Regions from separate parts of the Homo sapiens genome. Here all the other regions are linked to region 3. The links are contacts of gene promoters, found by promoter capture Hi-C in blood cells and fetal thymus (Javierre and others, 2016). All regions are on one chromosome and are shown on one strand. The core of a region is centred on a gene start or on the middle of the fragment in contact, and the rest is flanking DNA. Distances in the headings are between cores, read along the strand shown.

Evidence for each region. The method cuts DNA at HindIII sites, captures the fragments that hold promoters and counts their contacts. A CHiCAGO score of 5 or more calls a contact.
Region 1: the fragment with the promoter of ERLEC1 here is called in contact with the fragment with the promoter of CFAP36 in region 3 in 2 of 17 cell types (total B cells and naive CD8 T cells); the score reaches 9.4 in total B cells.
Region 2: a fragment that was not itself captured here is called in contact with the fragment with the promoter of CFAP36 in region 3 in 3 of 17 cell types (naive B cells, activated CD4 T cells and naive CD4 T cells); the score reaches 7.1 in naive B cells.

Annotation. Positions count from the first base shown.
Region 1 is chr2:53,784,143-53,788,840 of GRCh38, reverse strand. It overlaps ERLEC1 (endoplasmic reticulum lectin 1), which reads right to left and starts at 1,797. Exons shown (of 14, transcript NM_015701.5): 1 at 1,469-1,797. The coding sequence starts at 1,630. ASB3 (ankyrin repeat and SOCS box containing 3) reads left to right here and starts at 1,888. Exons shown (of 10, transcript NM_016115.5): 1 at 1,888-2,020. All of the region lies in intron 1 of GPR75-ASB3 (GPR75-ASB3 readthrough), which reads left to right. RefSeq lists enhancers at 1,805-2,224, 1,740-2,398. The HindIII fragment of the contact is 9,655 bases long and covers 1-4,698 here.
Region 2 is chr2:53,760,576-53,765,258 of GRCh38, reverse strand. All of the region lies in intron 2 of ASB3 (ankyrin repeat and SOCS box containing 3), which reads left to right. The region is part of intron 2 of GPR75-ASB3 (GPR75-ASB3 readthrough); the gene reads left to right. Among named protein-coding and RNA genes, the nearest start is that of CHAC2, 4.9 kb to the left of the region's middle. The HindIII fragment of the contact is 1,118 bases long and covers 1,447-2,564 here.
Region 3 is chr2:55,518,468-55,523,140 of GRCh38, reverse strand. It overlaps CFAP36 (cilia and flagella associated protein 36), which reads right to left and starts at 3,423. Exons shown (of 10, transcript NM_080667.7): 1 at 3,225-3,423; 2 at 975-1,039. The coding sequence starts at 3,339. RefSeq lists enhancers at 2,643-2,892, 4,073-4,122. The HindIII fragment of the contact is 7,670 bases long and covers 1,572-4,673 here.

The sequences.
Region 1 (4,698 bases), core at 548-3,047, 1.7 Mb after region 3:
GTATTAAAGTATTCTCTTCCAAGCCTGCTAAAGTTATATCTGATTCATAACAAAATTTTACATAGGTATTTCAATGTATCAATATTTTGTGGCATTAATACAAAGAGAAATTTGACGTCCCAGAAAAATATTTACCTAGATAAATTCAGAACATTTGGTTCACACATGTAATCCCAGTATTCTGGGAGGCTCAGGCACGAGGATTGCTTGAGCCCAGGAGTTCGAGACCAGCCTAGGCAACATAGTGAGACCCTGCCTCTAGAAAAAAAAAAAAAAATTAGCCAGGAGTGGTGGGATTTCCCTATAGTCCCAGCTACTGGGAAGCTGAGGAGATCTCTTGAGCCCAGGAGGTCGAGGCTGCAGCCAGTGGTGACCGTACCACTGCACTTCAGAATGGGCAACAGACTGAGACCCTGTCTCAAAAAACAAACAAAAACAGAAAAACCCAAACCAAACCAAACCAAACCAAAAAACCCCTAACACTTGCAAATAGAAAGCTATGTGGTAATAACATCCATTAACTTGACACATCTTGTTTTGACATCATAGTGTCACTTACTGTTTCAATGAAATGGTAATGAAAGAATATAATAAAGTATTGCAAGTTGAATGCTTGAAGGTAATTGGAATAAAAAGTTTAAAAAAATTTTGCTTTTTCCGGGACTTCAATTTGAAGTAAATGAGTTAATTACTACATGGTAAGTGTCATAAGAGTACAATATTTATTAGCCTGCAGTAGGTACACGTGGACAGGAAGACTTTTCAGCGGTCCACTCCCCCAAGAGGGAATTTTCATTTCCGCGAGGTTACAAATGTTCTTCACTACAGGAAAACTCAACATAGAAGCTCATGTTCTGGGGACTCAAATAACAGTCGTAATACATGAAAACTGTAAAGGATATTCTGCATAAAGGGTCGTTAACATCTCACAGGCCAAATAGCCCTCTCAGAAACAACTAGGAAAGGAAAAAGTTCCCTTGGAGCTGTGCGTTTGCGTATGTCCGTGTGTGTATACAACTGAGGGAGAACGAATACGAGAGAGGGAACTCGAGTCTGAAGTACTGTGGTGTGGGCAGGGTGACATGTAATACTGAAGGAAAGAAGTCTGCTGGTGAAGTAAGAGCCACAGTTAATTTTCCGAAAGGAAGATGAGTAAGTGCACCTGACGTTATTCTACGAAAGCTGCTTCTGCAGGGTGGGAATGTTGGGAAGCAAGGTCTAGTGCGACAGAATTGAAAAGGTGGAGAGCAGGTGATTGCTGGATCCCTAATGCTCAGCAAGGGGGACGCATCCACATAACGTGAGAACGAACGAATGAATGAACGCTGCATAAAAGCAGCTTTGGCTTGGGGAAGGTAAGAGTCTGCAGAGAAGGTCTTGGGGAGAAAAAGCAAAGAAAACCGAGGGAAGAGGCCGAACCCTTAGTGTCAGGAGGAGGGGTGGCTGCGGGGTTAGTGAGGGCACTGACCAGAGAGAACTCGGTGCCGGGCCAGTTGACTCGGAAAGGGATGTCATCGCTGAGTTGAGGAAGGGCTCGGCCGCCGCCGGACGCCTCCAGGAGGCCGCAGAGGACCAGTAACACCGGCCCGCCCGGGACCAGACTCCGTACGCCGCCGCCTCCTTCCTCCATCCTCCGCCGCCGCTTTCTCCAGCCACCGCCACAACCTCCTCTGCTCCAGGAGGAGAGGAGGAGGAGGAGGAGGTGGAGGAGGAGGCGGCGGGACTATAAAGCGCCCGGGTATCACCGGCCCAACCGCCGCCACGTCTCCTTCCGGAGAGCCCGGCAACGCCGCCTCCGCCCCCTTGAGCCTCCTGTCACCGTTTCCGGGGCAGACGACATATCAACATCCGGGGGTCGCGGAGCCGTCCGCCTACGGGGGCCGGGACGTCGCCTGCGCGTCTCTCGTTTTCGGACGGCTGCAGCATCGCGGTGGGGATCGAAAGCGGGGGCTTCTGGGACGCAGCTCTGGAGACGCGGCCTCGGACCAGCCATTTCGGTGTAGAAGTGGCAGCACGGCAGGTCGGTGAGTCTCGGAGGCGGCAGCCGCTTCCTGAAGCCATTCCCGCTGCTCTCCAGTGGGCAGGCAGAGGTTTGACCCACACGGAGTGATAGCGGGAAGAAGACAGTGTGAACCGTGCGGGTGCGGGTCCTTAGATGAGAAAATTCGAAGTAGCGATGAGATGTGAGAAATGGCGGTGTTCCTGACTGACCTGCCTTCTTGCAGCTTTTCTTCTTTTTCTCCGCATTTGGCATTTGTACACTTCATTTTTCCCGCTTGAGGCTTATCTCCATCTCTTCTGCTGTGGACCGTGGCCATCTCGTTACTTAACAGCTTCTGACTAACGCAGGGCAGTTTGTTCAGCGACTGCAACTCTGTGTTAGGGGAAACCTGGGGTGAGGTAGCCCGCCATCTCCCCGTAGGTGAATACCGCAAGCCTCCGAATTTGGCGTGGTGGGCGACTCTCGTGGAATGGGCAGCTAGACATCACAACCCTACATTTTTACCCTCCATCTCTAGATTGAAGTGTTGGGGTGTTGTTTTATCAAGGAAGCTGGTAAGGTTCCTTATGTGAGGTTTAGCGCCAGATGAATGTGTGTGTTTATGAACTAAGTCACGTCTGACTGCATCCCCAAATTAGACAAAAAGTTTTGTTTTTCCCTCCCCCTCTTTAGAAAAAATGCCATTGTCTGTTTTGATCTCCAATATAATGGACATAGAGTGTTGGCTTTAGAGAAATTACCATTCCCTAAAGCTCGACAGTCTTGCTAGATCTGTTAAAGACTGGTCGCCCCCACTTCCTCAGATTTGAACCAAATCAAAAAGCAGGAAGGACAGTCCCATATTCTATCTTAAAAATTTTTTTTTAACATCAGGAATCCATAGTATCAAAGAAGATAACTTTCTTCAGAATTGTTATTCGCTAATTATATTCAGCACTTCTTATTAATGCTTAATGTGATCCAGACTCCTGGGATTTTTGTTGTTGTTGTTTGTTTTGAGACAAAGTCTCGCTCTGTCACCCAGGCTGGAGTGCAGAGGCATAATCTTGGCTCACTGCAACCTCCGCCTCTGGAGTTCAAGGGATTCTCCTTTTTCTCAGCCTTCCGAGTAGTTGGGATTACAGGCGCGCGCCGCTACACCCTAATTTTTGTATTTTTAGTAGAGGCAGGGTTTCACCACGTTGGCCAGGCTGGTCTCGAACTCCTGACCTCGGGTGATCCGCCCTCCTCGGCCTTCCAAAGTGCTGGGATTACAGGCCTGAGCCACTGTGCCTGGCCCCCCTGGGCTTGGTAAAATGCCAAATAAATGGGTTTCTGTCTTTGGTCACACAGTCTAGGCAGGGAGATTGTACAAACAAATAATTGCAAACTATTATAGTAGTAATAGTCAATTTTTTTTTTTTTTAGCATTTATTCTGTGCTAAGCACTAGTCTTAAGTCATGAAGGAAAAGAGATGTATTTGACGGAATAAAAATGAAAACTGTCTGTGAGGTCCTGTTTTAGCATTTAGGGCTATAGTGATTGAATCTGTGTTCAATAGAGCTGATGTTCAAGTAAGAGGGGAACTTAAATAAGTAAAATAATTTCTAGTATTGGTAAGTGCTGCAAAGAAACTAAGGTTATGTGAAAGACAATACCTGTAGGATGTGTTGCTTTTAGTACGTAAGTCAGAGGAGACTTCTGTGAGGAAGTGACATTTGAATTGTGACTTGAATGATGAAAAGAAGGGAGCCAGACAAATTTCTAGGCAGAGGCCCTGAGGCAGGAATGAGCTTGATGTGTTGGAGTGATAGAAAGAAGGCCAGTGTGGCTGGAGTGTAAGAGGAAAGTGGTAGAAGAAGTTTGAGAAGCAGAAAGAGGCCAGGGAGACAGCTCTGTAGGCAGGAGAGTGGACAGGACCCGATGTACATTTGTGAAGATCATTGTGGCTGCTGTGTGGAAAATTGATTGTAGGGGGTGTTGTGGGTTGAATTGTGTTCCCCAAAAAGACATGTTTAAGTCCTATCCCCTAGAACCTGTGAGTGTGAACTACTTGGGATAGGGTCTTTGCAAATATAATTCAAGTAAGGATGAGGTCATACTGAATCAAAGGGGGCCCTAATCTGGTGACTGGTATCTTTATAAGAAGAGGGAAATTTGGATACACATGGACACACAGGGAGAATGCCATGCCAGGAAGGAGGAGGCAGCAAGATTGCAGTATGTGTCTATAAGACAAGGAATGCTAAAGATTGCCAGTAATCACCACAAGCTAGGAAGAGGCAAGGAAGAATCCTTCTTTAGAGCTTTCAGAGAGAGAGAATAGCCCTGCTGACATCTTGATTTCTGACCTCTAGTTTCTAGAATTGTGAGACAATCAATTTATGCTGTCTAAGCTGCTCAGTTTGTGGTCATTTGTTACAGCAGCCTCAGGAAGGTAATAGAGGATGAAAACCAAAAAGTAGTTGAGACAAGTCTCAACCAGTTTAGAAGTTTATTTTGCCAAGGTTAAGGACGTGTCACAGACAGCCTCAGGAGGTCCTGACAGCATGTGCCCAAAGTGGTCGGGCTACACTTGGGTTTTACACATTTTAAGGAGCCACAGGACATCAATCAGTACAAGTCTTTTATGCTTTATTTATAGGTTGATTCTTAAACATTGAAAACTTATCAACTATTTACCATATTGTAATTATACAATCATCATTCGCTATAA
Region 2 (4,683 bases), core at 756-3,255, 1.8 Mb after region 3:
AACTGCCTGAATTTATTTATTAAGGATAGTAAGATTGCCTGCCTTGGATTCAATTAGTATGATACTCTAGTTGGACATCTTATACGGAAGTGCCTCTGTCTGGCCTCTTTTTATTGACTGAGCTAGGTGATATGGGAGAAGTAGTCTGCTGTTTGAATTTAAGCATTTGGTAGTTACTGGTCATGTTTATTCTTTCTTCCTTTACCAAACAGAAAGAGCAATTGTACTGAAATTGAGGATGTGTTTTGATTGAATTAGTCTTTTTCTTTTTAAACACTTTTTAATACTTTTGGGAATTTTTACAACTACTTAGCATGAAACAAGATGCCTGCCTTCCTGATGCTTTTTCTTGTCAGAGGAAACAGATGACAAATATCTAAATAATTAAACAAGATAATTTAAAAAGGTAAAAGTGTTATGAAGAAAATAAAACAAAGTAGAGATAATAAAACAGATGGGATAGACAAAAATGGTGTGCTACTGCACATCTCTTTACATCTCTGCATTCAGTGACTTCATGCTTGGGATCGGCCATGGTAGGAGTATTTACACCACAGAAACAAGCCAGTGCTACAAACCAGTGCTATAAACTGGGCTTTCTTCCCTCTGGACAGCTAGTTATTAAATGTTAACCAGCACACTACTGAGTGAAGGTCATTGACTAAAGGCGAGATTCTGACATTTAGTATAGAGGGGGTAGGAAGAAAACAAATGGTGACTGAGCATTGCTTTGTGATAGTCATTGTGCCACATGCTCAATTTATCTTCTTTATCTAATATTTATAAAAATGGTGTTAGAGGCAGTATTATCCTCATTTTATTGGTGAAAAGACCAAGGCTCAGAGAAGTTGACTTGTAAAAGGTTACATAATAAACTAGGGTATTTGATTTGAACCCATTTCTCTGACTCTAAAGCCCTTTTTTTTCCTCTCATACCAAGCTTCTAACATTTAATTGAATGAATTTATAGCATTCAGTTAAAATGAGGTTGACTATAATACTCTGCATTGTAACACTCAGAACCAATTTCATTTCATTGATCGTGGAAATTCAGACCCTCTTTCCTGCATACTTGTCATCACCAGGTATAGGTCCTTAAAATATAAACTTCTGGGTCCATAGCCCATCAGAACTACTAATTTGTTACCTGCTGGACGGGAAAGGAAATAATCTTTACATTGTTTTTGGTAGTGGTAGGTGTTTTTTTTGTTGTTGTTGTTTTGTTTTTTTCTTTTTTTTGTCTTAACAGGTAAGAGATGGTAAGGCTAAACTTCCTAAATCATAATGCAGGAAATTTGTCATGATTGTTTTTAAAATCACATGTTCAAGTGTCTAGTGTCTATTATAGTTGAGTGTTTGAAGATAGTGGAAAAATAGATGTTATTCCTCTAATTTCAAACGCTTAAGATATGTTTTCAGAATCTGTTTGAAGTTAACTATAAAGCTTGAGTTCCCAAACTATTTTTAGTAACAAAGACATGAGTTTGAATATCCTTTTCTAGGCAAAAAGCTCATTTCCAATATACTGTTACATCTCTTCTTCATATCGGAATAGTGTAGTTTATGTTACAGATTTTTTTCATCTGCTGAGTAAACTTGGGCATGCTTTTGACTAAAGGCATTTGAACTGGCTGTTAAATTCATCTCTACAGTTGTCCTGCCATATCCACAGGGAATTGGTCCCAAAATGTCCACGGACACCAAAATTCATGGATGCTCCTCAAGTTCGGCAGTCTGCCCTGAAGATAGGAAAACGTCCTATACACACATACAAAAGGTCAGCCGTCTGTATCTGTGGGTTCCACATCCTACAAATGCTATTATCTTCCATCCCAGTTGGTTGAATCTGCAGGTGCAAAACCCGTGGATACAGAAGCCCGACTGTATTTCCTTTTTTTCTGAGACAGAGTCTTGCTCTGTTGCCCAGGTGGGAGTGCAGTGGTGCGACCTCAGCTCACCACCACCTCCACCTCCCAGATTCAAGCGGTTCTCCTGCCTCAGTCTCCCAAGTAGCTGGGACTACAGGTGCACACCACCAATGCCTGGCTAACTGTCTCACTTTGTTGCCGAGGCTGGTCTCAAACCCTTGGCTCAAGTGATCCTCCTGCCTTGGCTTCCCAAAGTGCTGGGATTACAGGTGTGATGCATCACACCTGCTGTCTTTTATTATATAATTTTCCTACCTCCCTGAGGTTTATCTAATATTAATACACTGTCAGAGATTCCTAAAAGATAATTAGTGCACCCAAATAAGAAGGTATGTAGGCCTACACAAATAAAATGGAAATATCTAAAATGATTAGAAGAGTTTTGCTTCACTGTCTCTTCAATTTAGATTTGGAATCCATTCTGAGTACCATACATGGTCTTCTGACTCAAGTTGGAGAAGAGCATTCAAGTGTGGTGTAGATTACATAGAAGTTTAATATGCATACATATTTTTGTATTTCTTATGTATCTCATTTTAGTTTTCTGTTTAACATATTAGCACAGATAACAAATTTGCTTGTCTTCTCTCCTGTATTGGAGGTTGGGTGTAATGGGTGTTGAGATTTTATGAAGCTTGTCATCCTGGAGGGCAGTAATGATCTTCACTGACAATTAATGCCATTCAATAATAAGTCATTTGCTGACTAAAAGTCCCTTAAAAATCTTATAATTATTAAGCATATAGCTAAAAAATACTTTTATTTGGCTAATAAATGATCTAGCTCATAGTATTTTTTATTAGTTCATGTTAAATAAGAAAATACGCACTAATACTGGGCACAGTAACAGATGCAGAAGTTCCTTAGACAAATAAATCATTGTAGCACAGCGATTAAGAGTTACGGTCAGATGGACCTGAATTCTAGTGACTCTACCATTTTATTGGTGTGACTTTGGACAGGTTTTTTAACCTCTAAGTGGTTTAGTTTTTTCATCTGTTAGATAGAAATATTCCATTGTTCCAGCTCAGGCCAGAAACTCTGGGCCATCATTAATTCCTTTCTTTTTCTCATATTTCTCATCTAGTCAGTCAGCAAATTTGTGTATGTGTATGTCTATATTTGTGTGTATGTATACACACACACACACACACACACAGTTAGATCACTTCTCACTACCATTAATACCTTGTCTGCGTTGCTATAATAGCATCTTAACAGATCTTCTCTATCTGCCATTGCTCCTTCTGCATCCTATGACAGACCACCCTCAATATATTAGAGGGATCATTTTAAAATGCAACAGACCAAGTCACTCTTCTGCTCTCTTGAGTGAAAACACTTTTGTGTAGTATTTCATGGTAGAGATGTAATGTAATTTATGTAACCATTCTTCTATTGATAGATATTTTGTTTGTTTCCTAAAGTTTTGCTGTTATAACTAGTGATTCAGTGAACATCCTTATGTATATATCTTTGTCTACATGGTTAACCATTTCTGTAGGATGGAGTTTTAGAAGTGCAATTACTGTTTGATAAGTTAGAGTTTCCTGGAGAAATAGAACCAATAGAATATATATAGATAGACAAGAGGGGATTTACTATGGGAATTGGCTAATGTAATTATGGGAGCTGAGAAGTCCCATCATATGCTCTCTGTAAGATGGAGAACCAGGAAAGCTGGTGGTGTAACTCACCCTAAGTCTGAAGGCCTGAGAACCAGGGGAAGTGATAGTGTAACTCTCAGTCTGAGGCCAAAGGACTGAGAACTGGGGTGTGGGAGGCCACTGGTATGAGTCCTGGAGTTTGAAGGCCTGAGGATCAGGATCTCCAGTATCCAAGGGCAGGAGAAGATGCATGTCCTAGTTCAAGAGAGAATGAATTCTCCTTCTGCCTTTTTTTTTTCATTTGCAGGATTAATAGAGTGAAAACAGAGCCCCCATACAACGGGAGGGGACCCAAAGGGGGTTGCTGCTCCCTGCTCGAATGCCTGAGTTTATATCCTGATCATTGTCCCTCCCTCTGTGCTCTCAGGCGATATATGATTTGACTATTTCTTTACCTCATGCTGTAGCCTAATTTGTATTTTAGTGAGCCCTCTTTACTACCTGATTGGTCAGGTGTGAGCTGAGTTACAAGCCCGGTGTTTAAAGGTAGGTGCGGTCACCTTTCCCAGCTAGGCTTAGGAATTCTTAGTCTGCCTAGGAAATCCAGCTAGTCCTGTCTCTCAGTCCCCCCTCTCAACAGTAAAACCCAAGTGCTGTTGGGGAGGTTGGCCGACGACTGCTCTTAAGTGCTTCCTGCTGTATTGGGGCATAGTAGGGGTCGTGCAGTTTAGATTTCATCAGGAGGAGTGCCTTCAATGTCATTAACATCGGAGCATGGGCTAGCAGGCTGTTCCAGGGGTCCACGGTAGATCTTAGTCATGGACTGCATCTGGGGTTCTATTTGAAGAACAATTTGTAATTTTACAGCTTTGATTCTGGAAGAGACAAACTTAACAAGGAGGTTAAAGATACAGGGATTGAAATGTAGGCCTGAAGTGCCAGGGATTATTTCTTCGGCACACTTCACAGATCCTGACTATCTGCTTGATAGTTTTGAAAAGGCCTGGTCTAGTAAATAATGATTTGGCCATCTGATGGGTGCTATCAATGCCTAAGTGAAAGGTCTAGTGAAGGGTTTTAAGTAATTTCCATTGGTTAGCTGCAGGCAAAAGTATTTTTCCTTCTTCAGTGGCTAGCCATCCTGAGGG
Region 3 (4,673 bases), core at 2,174-4,673:
CCACGCCTGGCCTTTTCTTTCTTTCTTTCTTTTTTTTTTTTTTGAGACAGAGTCTTACTCTGTTGTCCAGACTGGAGTACAGTGGCACAGTAATGGCTCACTGCAGCCTTGACCTTCTGGGCTCAAGAGATCATCCTCCCACTTCAGCCTCCCAAGCAACTGGGACTACAGGCACATGCCATCATGACTGATTAATTTTTGTAATTTTTATAAAGATGGAGTTTCACCATGTTGCCCAGGCTGGTCTCGAACTCCTTGGCTGAAGCAATCCACCTGCCTTGGCCTCCAAAGTGCTGGGATTATAGGTGTGAGCCACTGAGCCCCACTGCCAGAGGCATTTTTTAAAATCACAAGACAGGCTGGGCAGTGGCTCACACCTGTAAACCCAACACTTTGGGAGGCCCAGGCAGGTGGATCACTTGAGCTCTGGAGTTCCACACCAGCCTGGGAAACACAGAGAAACGCCATCTCTACAAAATACAAAAAAATTAGCAGGGCATGGTGGTGCACACCTGTAGTCCCAGCTACTCAGGTGGCTGAGATGGGAGGATCGCTTGAGCCTGGGGAGGTTGAGGCTGCAATAGGCTGTGATAGTGCCACTGCACTCCAGCCTGGGTGACAGAGCAAGACCCTGTCTCAAAAATAAAAAATAAAAAAATCACATGACAACCATGACGAAGTGAATAATTAATATGTCCCTGGATGCGTCAACAAAATAAGAATAAGATATAAAGAATACATGCAAGAACCCATAAAGAGTTGTAAAACCATTCCTTAGAGTAGAGGAGATAAGTCATCCAAATGAGATATTCAGAGCACCTGTGGAGACAGATATAACTGGCACTATTGTTAAGGTAGATTGGATTTTTGTAAAATTAAGGATTTTTAATGTAAAAATATTTTTCTTCATTTAGAAAAGCTATAAGTAGTATTAGCCTAATTACTTTTAAAAATCAGTGAAAAAAAATACTCACTAGTTCTTTGTATTCCTGATGAATCTCTGTATAGGTCAATTTGCTTTCTTCTTCATCATCAAAAACTAAATTTAAAAGAAAATATTACATAGTGTAAAAACCAAATCATTTTATTAATGCAAATTTAAAAATCCACTCCTTCCAAATAGAACTGTCAACCTAGCTCTTCAGCTTTGAATTCTTAGGGTTTATCTTTTAAAAATATATAAATGAATATATCTAAAAATATATACTATTGGCCGAGCACTGTGGCTCATGCCTGTAATCCCAGCACTTTCGGAGGCCAAGGTGGGTGGATCACCTACGATCAGGAGTTCGAGACCAGCCTGGCTGATGTGGTGAAATCCCATCTCTACTAAAAATACAAAAATCAGCCAGGCGTGGTTGTGCGCGCCTGTAGACCCAGCTACTCGGGAGGCTGAGGCAAGAGAATTGCTTGAACCCAGGAGGCGGAGGTTGCAGTGAGCCAAGATTGCACCACTGCACTCCAGCCTGGGCGGCAGAGTGAGACTCCATCTCAAAAAAAAAAAAGAAAAAAAAATATACACACACACACACACACACACACACATATATACTATTAATTGTAAACAAGCTTTTTTGCCTACTTGAGAAAATATTTAAAATGAATACTACCTCATATTTAAGACAAAAACACATTTCAATCAATATGAGGCAATAATTTCTTCATAACTTTTAATGTAATATTATTGTTAATGGTTAAATCCTTTTACAATAGGTTCCATATTATTTTATTGTACTGGAATTTTGCTGATGTAAATGTTACTGAAAGTGACCAGGCAATTTTTGTTACCACAGATAAATAATGAAGTTAAATAAAATCAAAACAAGTGTTTACTGAATGATCATATGTATAAAACAATGCAGTGAGCCAAGATCACGCCACTGCACTCCAGCCTGGGCAACAGAGCGACACTCTGTCTCCCAAAAAAAAAAAAAAAAAAGGAGTACAAATACAAGTTATTTTGTTTTTGAACATTGTTAAAAAATTACCTGTAAAAATAACACTTTAATAACTACGATTTGAATATTGATTATAGCAATGAAAATGTAATGAAAAGATTCAGTGGTCAAACTGAATTTCATCTTTACCAGATTCATGATATCTTGGAATTTAAAGAAGTCTTAAAAGGTCATCCAGGATAACCGACCATTTGATAGCTGAATAGCTGAATCCCTCTAACCCTATTAAGTCGCTATCAGATCCATTCAAACACTGCTGGAGCCGGGAAGCTCATTACCTTCTGAGGCTGGCTAACTCATCTTGGATACATTCTATCATGAAACACTTCCTTCACTGAAATTTGTTTCCCTGTAGCTTGTACCAACTGACCCTAGCTCTATTCTACTCAACCTTACAACACAAAGCAGATGTTCAAATAATTGATGAATACTACTACCCTCAAAGTCTTGCCCGATTAAACAACCACAATAACGCTTGGGCACTCATTTATATGACGTGGTTTCTGGTTCCTTTTCTGCGAATGGGCTGCAAATAGTCTCCACGAACTGAATGCAGAACTCCAAGCCTGAAGAACTGCTCAGAACCCGGAGATGCCTGTCCTTCACGGGGAATATTATGCCATATCTATACGCCTCATTTGTTCCAAGAATGGTCCTGCCCCACCTCGCCAATTTTTGGTATAGCGAAGAGTAGAGAGCTCACCAAGGGGAACACAGGCCACCAAAATCACCGGCTCTGGGCTTCCTGGAGTTATCACATGCCCTCCTTTGCAGTTAACTGTTGGTTTGGAGTGAAATCATTTCTCATTTCCTAAGCTGACTACACCGGGCGAAATGCTAGGGATCATAAGGAACTCAGGTAAACCGACGCTTCTCCTCTCAAGTCTGGCAAAGCTGTTGAAGAAGCCCAGCCAAACAGTCCACCTGCCGAGGGCAGAAACGTTCGGGACAGGGTGAGAGACCGAATTTACGATTCAAGTCTAATGTTCTTCGGACGTGCGCTTCGGCCCCAGAGAAGGGGAGTCTCGGTCCCCGTTTTCAGGTCTGCGAAGGAACACATTGGCAGGGTGAAAGGAATTCCTCCCACACAACCAGCTCTAAACCTGATGACGCGGGTGGAGAAGGTGGTGAGGGGAACGAGACCTTGCGACAGGGGTGGAGACAGGGGGTCGGGGAGACGAGAGATGGCTTGTGGTTACCAACCCCCTGCCCGCCGCTGGTGTGAGAGAGGAGAAAAGGATTGTCGGTTCGGGCTCTGGTTTTTACCTTCACATTTCTGTTCCACAAAGTCCAAGATGGGGATGGACCAGTCTGGGCCTCGCAGGAACCCCGCGATGCTCTCCACTACCCACTCCACCTCGTCTTCTTCTTCCGCAGCCATCCCGCCCCAAAGGGGCAACGGGGAAGATCCCTAGGCCAGACCGCCGGACCCCGGTTAGGCCTTTGGGCCACAAGGAGCCGAGAGGGAGTAGGGGAAGAGCTGGCCCGCAGTCGCTCAGCCCCCAGGATAGAAGCTACCAACCAGTTAATGCAAAATGGTCGCTATGGCAACACACGTAGCCGCCCTAGACCGCGGCCCGGAAGTGAAGACAACTTTCCAGGAGCCTGCGCACTTAGCGGGGAGGGCAAACGTTTGAAAAACGTTTCTGATTGGTTAAAAAAGAACAGTGGACGAGGGCTGAGAAAAGAAGTGTAGCTATTGGCTGGAAGTCATAGACAGATTGCGCTCTCTCTTCTGATAAATGCGTAGGAGCCAAGGTTTAGAAAACGCGCAGTAGACGGGCGCGGTGGCTCACGCCTGTAATTCCAGCACTTTGGGAGGCCGAGGCTTGCGGATCACCTGAGGTCAGGAGGTCGAGACCAGCTTGGCCAACATGGTGAAACCTCGTCTCTACCAAAAATACAAAAATTAGCCTGGCGTGGTGGCGCCGCCTGTAATCCCAGGTACTCGGGAGGCTGAGGCAGGAGAATCGCTTGAACCCGGGAAGCCGAGGTTGCAGTGAGCCACTGCACTGCAGCCTGGGAGACTGCGTCTCAAAAGAAAAACAGGAAGAAAGAAAAGAAAAAAGAAAAGGCTCAGTGAGGGTCTGAGGTAACCGGGTCTCCACCTGACAGGGCTTCAGCGGCTGCAGTTCATCATTGTATCCCCAGCACCTCAGTCCCAACCATTTTCAGACCATTGGCCCAGAGGCGTTTGTAATTAAAGGGTTGTCTGAAAATACAAAGCCGAGCTGTGTGAGACTCGCTGATTGTCTTACGGTCAGTTTGCATCTGTATCTTCAGGCGGGTCTTTAATCTCTTACGCTTGGATAAAGATAACTAGAATTAGGAGCTTTTCAAGGGCAAGAGCAAAGTTAATACTCACTTAAATAAATGCCTTGGTAACCAAATCTTATTATAACTCCAACTCAGCATTTAGGTGGAGTCCATTGTGGAATGGGGTCTTCAGTGGTCATTGTGAAGGTGTTTGGAGTCCCAAAATATCTTCAGACAACCATATATATATATATATTTTTTACATAAATAGGATTATATGTACAGTTATGAATTTTTTTCTTATATCTTTATCTTTTAAAAATATAAATTTGTGCTTTCTTTGCAACTGCATAGTATTCCATAAACCATCCTTTAGTCTATTTTTATTTTGTGAATGTGCACACAGTATCTTACCTGAATGCATGAAGATGATCATTATGTGCCTTTTTTTTTTTTTTT